Linked DNA regions of Homo sapiens: regions 1 and 2 are each linked to region 3. The links are contacts of gene promoters, found by promoter capture Hi-C in human tissues and cell types (Jung and others, 2019). All regions are on one chromosome and are shown on one strand. The core of a region is centred on a gene start or on the middle of the fragment in contact, and the rest is flanking DNA. Distances in the headings are between cores, read along the strand shown. Region 1 overlaps CC2D2A (coiled-coil and C2 domain containing 2A). Region 2 overlaps TAPT1-AS1 (TAPT1 antisense RNA 1). Region 3 holds the start of FGFBP2 (fibroblast growth factor binding protein 2).

The links. Contacts are between HindIII fragments. The study calls those that stand out against the background at their distance.
Region 1: a fragment that was not itself captured here is called in contact with the fragment with the promoter of FGFBP2 in region 3 in 1 of the 25 tissues and cell types used here (spleen).
Region 2: a fragment that was not itself captured here is called in contact with the fragment with the promoter of FGFBP2 in region 3 in 2 of the 25 tissues and cell types used here (adrenal gland and aorta).

Annotation. Positions count from the first base shown.
Region 1 is chr4:15,554,255-15,556,958 of GRCh38, reverse strand. CC2D2A (coiled-coil and C2 domain containing 2A) reads right to left here. Exons shown (of 37, transcript NM_001378615.1): 20 at 1,749-1,887. Among named protein-coding and RNA genes, the nearest start is that of CC2D2A, 86 kb to the right of the region's middle. The HindIII fragment of the contact is 4,032 bases long and covers 1-2,704 here.
Region 2 is chr4:16,241,723-16,244,573 of GRCh38, reverse strand. The region is part of intron 2 of TAPT1-AS1 (TAPT1 antisense RNA 1); the gene reads right to left. Among named protein-coding and RNA genes, the nearest start is that of TAPT1-AS1, 16 kb to the right of the region's middle. The HindIII fragment of the contact is 5,377 bases long and covers 1-2,851 here.
Region 3 is chr4:15,961,655-15,964,468 of GRCh38, reverse strand. It overlaps FGFBP2 (fibroblast growth factor binding protein 2), which reads left to right and starts at 1,294. Exons shown (of 2, transcript NM_031950.4): 1 at 1,294-2,031. The coding sequence starts at 1,340. The coding sequence ends at 2,011. RefSeq lists an enhancer at 423-1,264. The HindIII fragment of the contact is 18,537 bases long and covers 1-2,814 here.

The DNA.
Region 1 (2,704 bases), core at 94-2,593, 410 kb after region 3:
ATATCGTATATAAAATCGAATATATGACTTTTTAATGTCATGTGCATATGCAGATAAAGGCCTCAGAGGCAGCTGGTCAGCTTTACTTGGCTCCACAGCCATGCTTTCCTGTCCCTGAATAGCACCTCACAGCCTTGGTCACTGAGAAAAGTTAGCCAGAGATGGATCCAGCCCAGCCAGCCTCCAAGGCCCCTGTGCATTGTCTCAAGAAGGCCAAGTCTGGCACCTCTGAGAAGCTGAGCAGATGTGGACTGCACCTCACCCAGGTGCTGCCTGCCTCTCTGCTTGGTGCTTTGCTGGCTGTAACCTCCTCCTGAGCAGAGGAAAAGCTAGTGCCCCAAGATGTGCTGGGGCCTTGCATGGGAAAGGCAATCCTGGTTCATAGCAAGAGACCAGTCAAGAAGGCAATCCCCGTTTTGTTCTTTGATGGGAAAACATATAGTTAAAAAGAAAATAATGAAAGTGACGTGTCTATTGAAATGTGATTTGAAAACTTTACATGGAATAGACTACATTTTAGGTAATATGACCCAATCTTCCAAATATTTCTATTAGGCACACTAAGGTGTATCATGCTTTAGGAGAGTTTATAAAGATAAAAGTCAGAATAAACCAAGGTTTGTTATGGGACTTGGAAAAACTAGAACCAAAATGAAAATGTTCATGCCGGCTACAATTATCCTATTGATAAACACATACTGATAGCCATGATCATAAGGATGTGTTGCTAGGGCTACCCTCTGGATTACCTACTTGTTTATTATGGCTTTGTGTGAATAATGAAGTTGCCAATAAAACCAATTGTATTCGATACCAAGAAAAATAAACTAATGTTCCAATTTATTTGCAAATTCATTGAAGAAAGAATTTTGAATATTATGGTAGATCTGAGCAATTTATCTGGTAAATACTTAAGTGAAACCTAAATGATAACTAATTAATCAACAACAAGAAAACAAAACAAATTTTCCCTAAAATGCCCCATCAGTGCTTTAAGTTGTGATGAAAAAAGCAAGTGTCCTGAAATCAAATCGACTTATTAGCTGAGTGACCTTAAGCAAATAACGCTGAGTTTCTGAACTCAGCTTCCTCTCTGGAGAAGGGGATATAAAACCTTTAGGAGTTTTACAGAGGTTGGAGGTAGGAGTGACAACAACAACAATATTTACTGCTCACAAATTGTGTGCCCAGATAAAGGGGTTTTGTTTGTTTGTTTGTTTTTGAGATGGGAGTCTCACTCTATTCAGACTGGAGTGCAGTGGCAAGATCACAGCTCACTGAAGCCTCAACCTTGTGGACTCAATTGATCCTCCCACCTCAGCCTCCTTAGTAGCTGGGACTATAGGCATGCGCCACCGTGCCAAGCACATTTTTACATTTTTTGCAGAGATAGGGTTTCGCCATGTTGCCCAGACTGGTTTCGAACTCTTGGGCTCAAGCGATCCTCCTTCCTTGGCCTCCCAAAGTGCTGGAATTACAGGCATGAGCCACCATGCCCGGCCGAGCTAAGAGTTTATCTGCAGCTGTTCATTTCCTCATGACCCCGCTATGACAGCAGCACAGGGCTTAGAAGCACTGAATACTTGCCTGGGTCCCATAGCCAGGCAAGAAGCACAGCTGGAATTCAAACTTGGCATTCAACCCAGCACCCATGTTCTTAAACAGTATTGCATAGGAGAAGATAGTGTAAAGGAAAATTGTGTAAAAGGCCAAGTCAAGAAATGGCATGTGTGCCTCCTGCTACATACCGAGATAAGCTGCATCAAAGGGGCATTGTTGGGGTCATTTGGGTCGAGCTTGGACTCTGCTGCCCACTTGGCCAATTTTTTCATGTCTGTCAGTCCTGATGTGCCAATAGATGAGATGGCATCTGCTTTCTTCAAAGCACTGAAAAGAAGAGTTGATTCCATGAGACTGACTTGACCACAGAACAGTTTGCATCAGGACCTCAAATTCTAGAGACAGCATGACTTGAGGAAGCTATTATCCTCCATGAGAGAAAATGTTATCATAAGGAAGGATTTTGTCATTTTTCTTTACATGATGATGGCTATTAAACATAAGGACAATAAAGAAACAGGAATGGAAGGACTGCAGATATGACTAATTCCTACAACTCTGTCCAGTGCATAAAAGTGCCCCTTGGTCCCTGGATTCTGGCCAGTGAAGAGGGGCCTCTGTATCTGGTGCTGGAAGCCCACAAAGCCTCACATCCCAGGCCACTGGGGCCCACTATAGCTGAGGACAAACCAAAAGAAAAAGAAACAAAACCAACTCTTTTTTTTGAGACAGTCTTGCTCTGTCGGCCAGGCTAGAGCGCAGTGGTGCGATTTCAGCTCACTGCAACCTCTACTTGCTAGGTTCAAATGATTCTCATGCCTGAGCCACCCAAGTAGCTGGGATTGCAGGCATGCGCCACCATGCCCAGCTAATTTTATTATTTTTTTTAGTAGAGATGGGGTTTTGCCATGTTGGCTAGGCTGGTCTCAAACTCCTGACCTCATGTGATCTGCCTGCCTCGGCCTCCCAAAATAGTCGGATAATGGACGTGAGCCACCGTGCCCAGCCTAAAACCAACTACTAAACAACAAACTTAAGCACCAGCTTTGGACACCTGGAGATCAAAGGAAGCCACAGTAGTCAGCAAGGTTGAGCTGGGGCTTTATTAATAGTCCTGCATATCTTGTTACTCACATTGTGTTTT
Region 2 (2,851 bases), core at 73-2,572, 280 kb before region 3:
CTTTGGAATGTCAGCCAATTCCCTAAAGTATCCAGGTCTTCTTTCAAAAATGTTCTTGGCCAGGGTGCAGTGGCTCACACCTGTAATCTCATTTGGGAGGCCAAGGCAGAAAGATCACTTGAACACAGGAGTTTAAGGCCAGCCTGGGCAATGTAGGGAGATCCATCTCTACAAAACATAAAAAACTAGCCTGACATGATGTGTGTCTGTGTTCCCAGCTACTCAGGTGGCTGAGGTGGGAGGATCACTTAAGCATGGGAGATCAAGGCTGCAGTGAGCCATGATCATGCCACTGCACTCCAGCCTTGGTGACAGAGTGAGACCCTGTCTCAAAAAACAAAAGGAAAGTTCGTGTTCAAAAGATTATCTTTTTAAAAATCAGTCATCTTCCTTCTCCCCCCACCACCCTCACCTCTCTCTCTGTCTCTCTCTTCTGTCCTTCTGCCCTCACCCCTACTTGTTTTTGTTAAAAGAAAGTGTTAAAAGAAAAACTGAGGCACAATACAAATCTTAGAGTTTATCTGAGCAAACAACAATTCATGAGTTGGGAAGCACCAAACCAGAAGAGGTTTGGAGCTCCATAAAGAGGCACAAGGAACTGGCTTTTATAGAGTGAATGCAGAAATAAAGAAAATATTTGCTCAGCACCTGAAGATGTCGAGACAAGGGGAACGCTTAAGGCCAAAAGTTTGAGACTAGCCTGCACAACATAGCAAGACCCCTATTTTGTCCCCCTTTCAGCCACCTTTTCTACAAAAAAATTAAAAATTAGCCAGGTATGGTAACACACGACTTTAATCCTAGCTACTTGGGAGCTCAGGCAGAAGGATCACCTGAGCCCAGGAAGTTGAGGCTGCATTGAGCTATGCTCACGCCACTGCATTCCATCCTGAGCAACAGAGTGAGACCTTGTCTCTTAAAATTAAAAATAAAATGTTTGAGTGAATATTTAATTTCCTTATTTGGTTTGTCCCACTAGAAAGTCTCTAGTTACCTAAGTTAGTTGGCTGCTTCTGATTGATTGAGCTTAAGTTTTGTTTTCCTCTGATATAAGCATTTACATGTAATGGCCCAAGTTAAGTTTTGCTTATGTTTGCAATTTAAAAAACGTTAAGGTTATTTTCAAGGCCTAACTCACTTTGTCTGCTGAGGGATTTTTCAGGTCTAGTCTCCATTTTAGTTTGTTTTTACAACTGCCCCTTTTTGGTTATCCTCTTTATCCTCTCAGCAAACTGACAGTGTAATTAAACGGTATAGCATTCGTCTTGGTTATCGCCATTGAGGGAGTTGACGTAGACACTGGGACAGAGTCATAGAGACATTCTCATCGTCCATAGTTGCACTGGAAGGAAGGGTGGTGGTGTCACTGTTATCAGCACCTCTGTAGCCATCACTGGTCAGGTGGTTGAGCTCCTCAAGTTATCTGATCCTGATGGCAATCATTTGATATGTGAGTAGCTGCTGGAAAGCATTTAAAACCCCTGATAGGACACCATGCACTAGGAAGGTAAATACAACGACTTTAAAGAGAATAATCGCCAAGGACTGAAAAATCTCCCAGAGCAGAGATTCCCAGGAGCCACGATTTAGTCAACTAAACAAATCAGTAGGTGTAGCATCACCTCTGTGATGAAAAACCTGTATCTCTTCTTTTAAGATCTTTTAGATTTGGGGCAACAATTCGTGATTTATTAACATAGAAGCTACAGTTTTCAACACTAACAGCACATGCACCACCCTAGTGAGTGGTTAGGGTATACAGAACTTCTCTATTTTGCAAAACTAATGAAGCAAGGTTGGAGAGACCTCATTTGTAAAGCCAAGACAAAAGTGGCAGTGTCATTAAAGCTTTTTTCTAAAGTCCTGGGAACATTTATAATAGCCTTTCCTAATTCAGACGTATCAACGGAAGGAATCAATGCTCTGACGAATGAGTGAAACCCAAAATTGCATGTAGTGAGAAGCTTAGCACTGCATGAATTTCTCTTATGAGAAGATATTTTATGGACAAATGAGCCAAGATTAATGGTTTCATTGCAGAGAGGGTTTTTTGTCTCTGAACACTCGGAGCCACTTTAATCCAAAATGGTCATTCAATTTGCAGGCAATTCTTGCACAAAATTGTGGTGCGTTGGAAATAGAGTCCCATTCCTTTCATGGGTAATGCTAAAATTTGAGGCTCTCAGTTCTGTTCCCTCCAGTTTCCTTAAGAAGTAGGGGGTAAGCAGACTTCCAATTATTGAATTTAGATAAAAAGAAGAGTTTGCTGTTGGATATAGAATTGGGAAATACCTAGTTCAGGAAAATCTATCTGGATTATAGAATTAAGAATGGGTATATGCAGAGGAGGATTTTGTGTGGTTACATTGGGAAAGGCTAATCTGAACAGTTTCAACACAAAATGGAGGAGTAATATATTCTAGAGAGGAATAAGTCTGATTACTAAAAATACAGACAGGGAATTTTCTTTCATTTGAGGATAAATAGGGAATATAGTTGGGTAAGACTAGCTAGGCTTTGGAGATGTGTCCACATCCCGTTAGGTTGGTACCAGGCTGTTTTATTGGCTGGATGCAACTGTGAAAATATATCAGGTTCTTCATATATTGTATGGGCACAAATCCAGCATTCTGACTGATTAGTTATAGATGCTATTTTTTATACAATATCCACCAAGGAGTGTTTGCAATCAATGTTAGTAAAGCCTAATAAAGGTATTGATAACAAAAGCATTTTAATCATAGTGCCAGTAAACTTGTATCATTGATAGATGCAAAAGACTATTCATTGTGTCATTATTTATAATAGTAGAAGATTGAAAACAATCCAAATATCTACTGATAGGGGATCT
Region 3 (2,814 bases), core at 45-2,544:
CTTTACCCTTTCTCAACCTGACAAATTGACTGACTTGTCTTGAAGGTTTGGCACCACTTCTTGGAAGCTTCCTCTGCTCCCCACCTGGGGTGATGCCCTCTTCTGGAAGGCTCTCACTGCTACACACACAGTGGCTGCCGAAGCTCAGCCTGGCTTTAGTTCCAGCCCTACTAGGTCTTCTCAGGACTCAGGATATCCAGGTGGAAGGAAGGCTGTGCCAGGTACCAACTACCCTACGTGGGATCGCCAAGATAAATCCCTCACATTCAAACTAGTCCCCCAACATCCGTCAACCCTATTCCTAACAGCAAATTGCCACCTTTAGTCCACTCCACAGTGCCCTCTGGAAGGGTCATCAAAAGACAGTTATGACCATACCAAACTATGATTCTTGACACAGAATCAAAAGTTATTTTCAATTTATTTTTTTTCTATTGTAGAACAATAATAATAATATTTAAAATCATATTTTCCTGTGATATAATTAAAACTGTGTTATTTCAATTGAATTTGAAATAGAATTCATGGTCTAAAATAGACTGAATCCCACTGTGAACATATATTTGCATGCCTTCCTCGTCATCATTCAGTTGGTGCAATTGTAAGGCATGCAATAACAAGGGAAGTGAACATTGCAGCACTGTGGCCTGTGGCCACGGTGATGGCGGGACAGCCCCACAGAGGCCACACCAGGTGACTCTCAGCTCGGTGGGTGGGAGGGGGAGTGTCTCTGTGTCCCTCTGGCACACACATCCTCACACAACCTCACATAGTCTTTTTTGCATTTGCTAGGCCATCTCATAACACTTAGGCTCATAAAATTCTGGCTTCCTTTGGATTAACTAAACCCATGGTCCCCCAAGATGGGGATTCCAGGGAGCAGGAGGGAGCCTCGAGGCAGCCCAGACTCCCAGCTGCAAACCTCACTTTCCAGAATACCACTGCCACACCTTGGCATATACCAAATGTTGACAAAGAAGGCTGTTCCCGTACAAGGGCCAATTTTAGAGCAAGCACCCTGTGGTTGGAAAACTGTAAAACCCTCAGCCCCAAAGCTGTGTGTGGCGCTTTGTGCGTGACAGGGCTGGGGCAGATCTCTCTGAGGCACTCAGGAAAACCATTCCCTTTGCTTGTGGTGGGCGGCCCCTGGTGGCTGCTCTGCCCTTGCCAAGTGTTACGTGTCTAAGGTCTGTGGGCATGTTTCTCATTTGCTGCAAAACATCCTCCCCACCCTTGCAGAGAAAGAGTCTTTTGTGCAGCACCCTTTAAAGGGTGACTCGTCCCACTTGTGTTCTCTCTCCTGGTGCAGAGTTGCAAGCAAGTTTATCGGAGTATCGCCATGAAGTTCGTCCCCTGCCTCCTGCTGGTGACCTTGTCCTGCCTGGGGACTTTGGGTCAGGCCCCGAGGCAAAAGCAAGGAAGCACTGGGGAGGAATTCCATTTCCAGACTGGAGGGAGAGATTCCTGCACTATGCGTCCCAGCAGCTTGGGGCAAGGTGCTGGAGAAGTCTGGCTTCGTGTCGACTGCCGCAACACAGACCAGACCTACTGGTGTGAGTACAGGGGGCAGCCCAGCATGTGCCAGGCTTTCGCTGCTGACCCCAAACCTTACTGGAATCAAGCCCTGCAGGAGCTGAGGCGCCTTCACCATGCGTGCCAGGGGGCCCCGGTGCTTAGGCCATCCGTGTGCAGGGAGGCTGGACCCCAGGCCCATATGCAGCAGGTGACTTCCAGCCTCAAGGGCAGCCCAGAGCCCAACCAGCAGCCTGAGGCTGGGACGCCATCTCTGAGGCCCAAGGCCACAGTGAAACTCACAGAAGCAACACAGCTGGGAAAGGACTCGATGGAAGAGCTGGGAAAAGCCAAACCCACCACCCGACCCACAGCCAAACCTACCCAGCCTGGACCCAGGCCCGGAGGGAATGAGGAAGCAAAGAAGAAGGCCTGGGAACATTGTTGGAAACCCTTCCAGGCCCTGTGCGCCTTTCTCATCAGCTTCTTCCGAGGGTGACAGGTGAAAGACCCCTACAGGTAATACCCTTTCCTTTACTCATATACAGAGACTACGTGTATATACTTATATACAGAGACTACGTGAGAGGCACTTAGCACTTTCACAGCTGCTGCGACCACATCAGAGTCTCAGCGTGTGTTTGGGGGTGGGTTTGAGGCTGTCTGTTGCAGAGCAGTGTAGATGAGGTAGTTCATCCGGAGTGGCACTTGACCCTGGAGTTGCATAGGAATCACCTACAAGGAGCTCTAAAAATGCTGATGCCCAGGCCCCTCGCCAGACCGTTCCATCTATGTCTCCAACATAGTAGCGCAGGAATGTGGACTTTTAAAACTCTCCCCCAAGTGATTTGAATGTGCAGCCAAGGTTGAGAATCTCCTTGTGATGGAACCACCTCACTGTTAGACCGAGGCCTTTGGAATTCTGCCGGGTAACGTTTCCTAATGAACCAAGCATTTGCTGCAGCTGTTAGTGGCCGAGGTGCTATGTCATGGTGGAGGTGTCGCCACACCCCGTCTTGTTCTCAGTTTTTTCTCCTACAGTCAAGTTAGGGTGGGGAGTGTTGTGCACTGAGGAAAGTTTGAGTCAAATAGTCTTTAAAGTCTTTCTCACAGCTCTCAAAGCCTTTAATTGTTTTTTGTTCATCACAGAGGAGAAAATCTAATTAATAATAACAGATTTAATCAACTCCAAGTATTGCTTTTAAAAGACCAAACTTTTTCTTGTGGAAATAAGGCTTATTACTGATCTCTATCCTTAAATGTAGCAGCTTTCATTAATTTTGCACACCAGTAAGGAGTTCA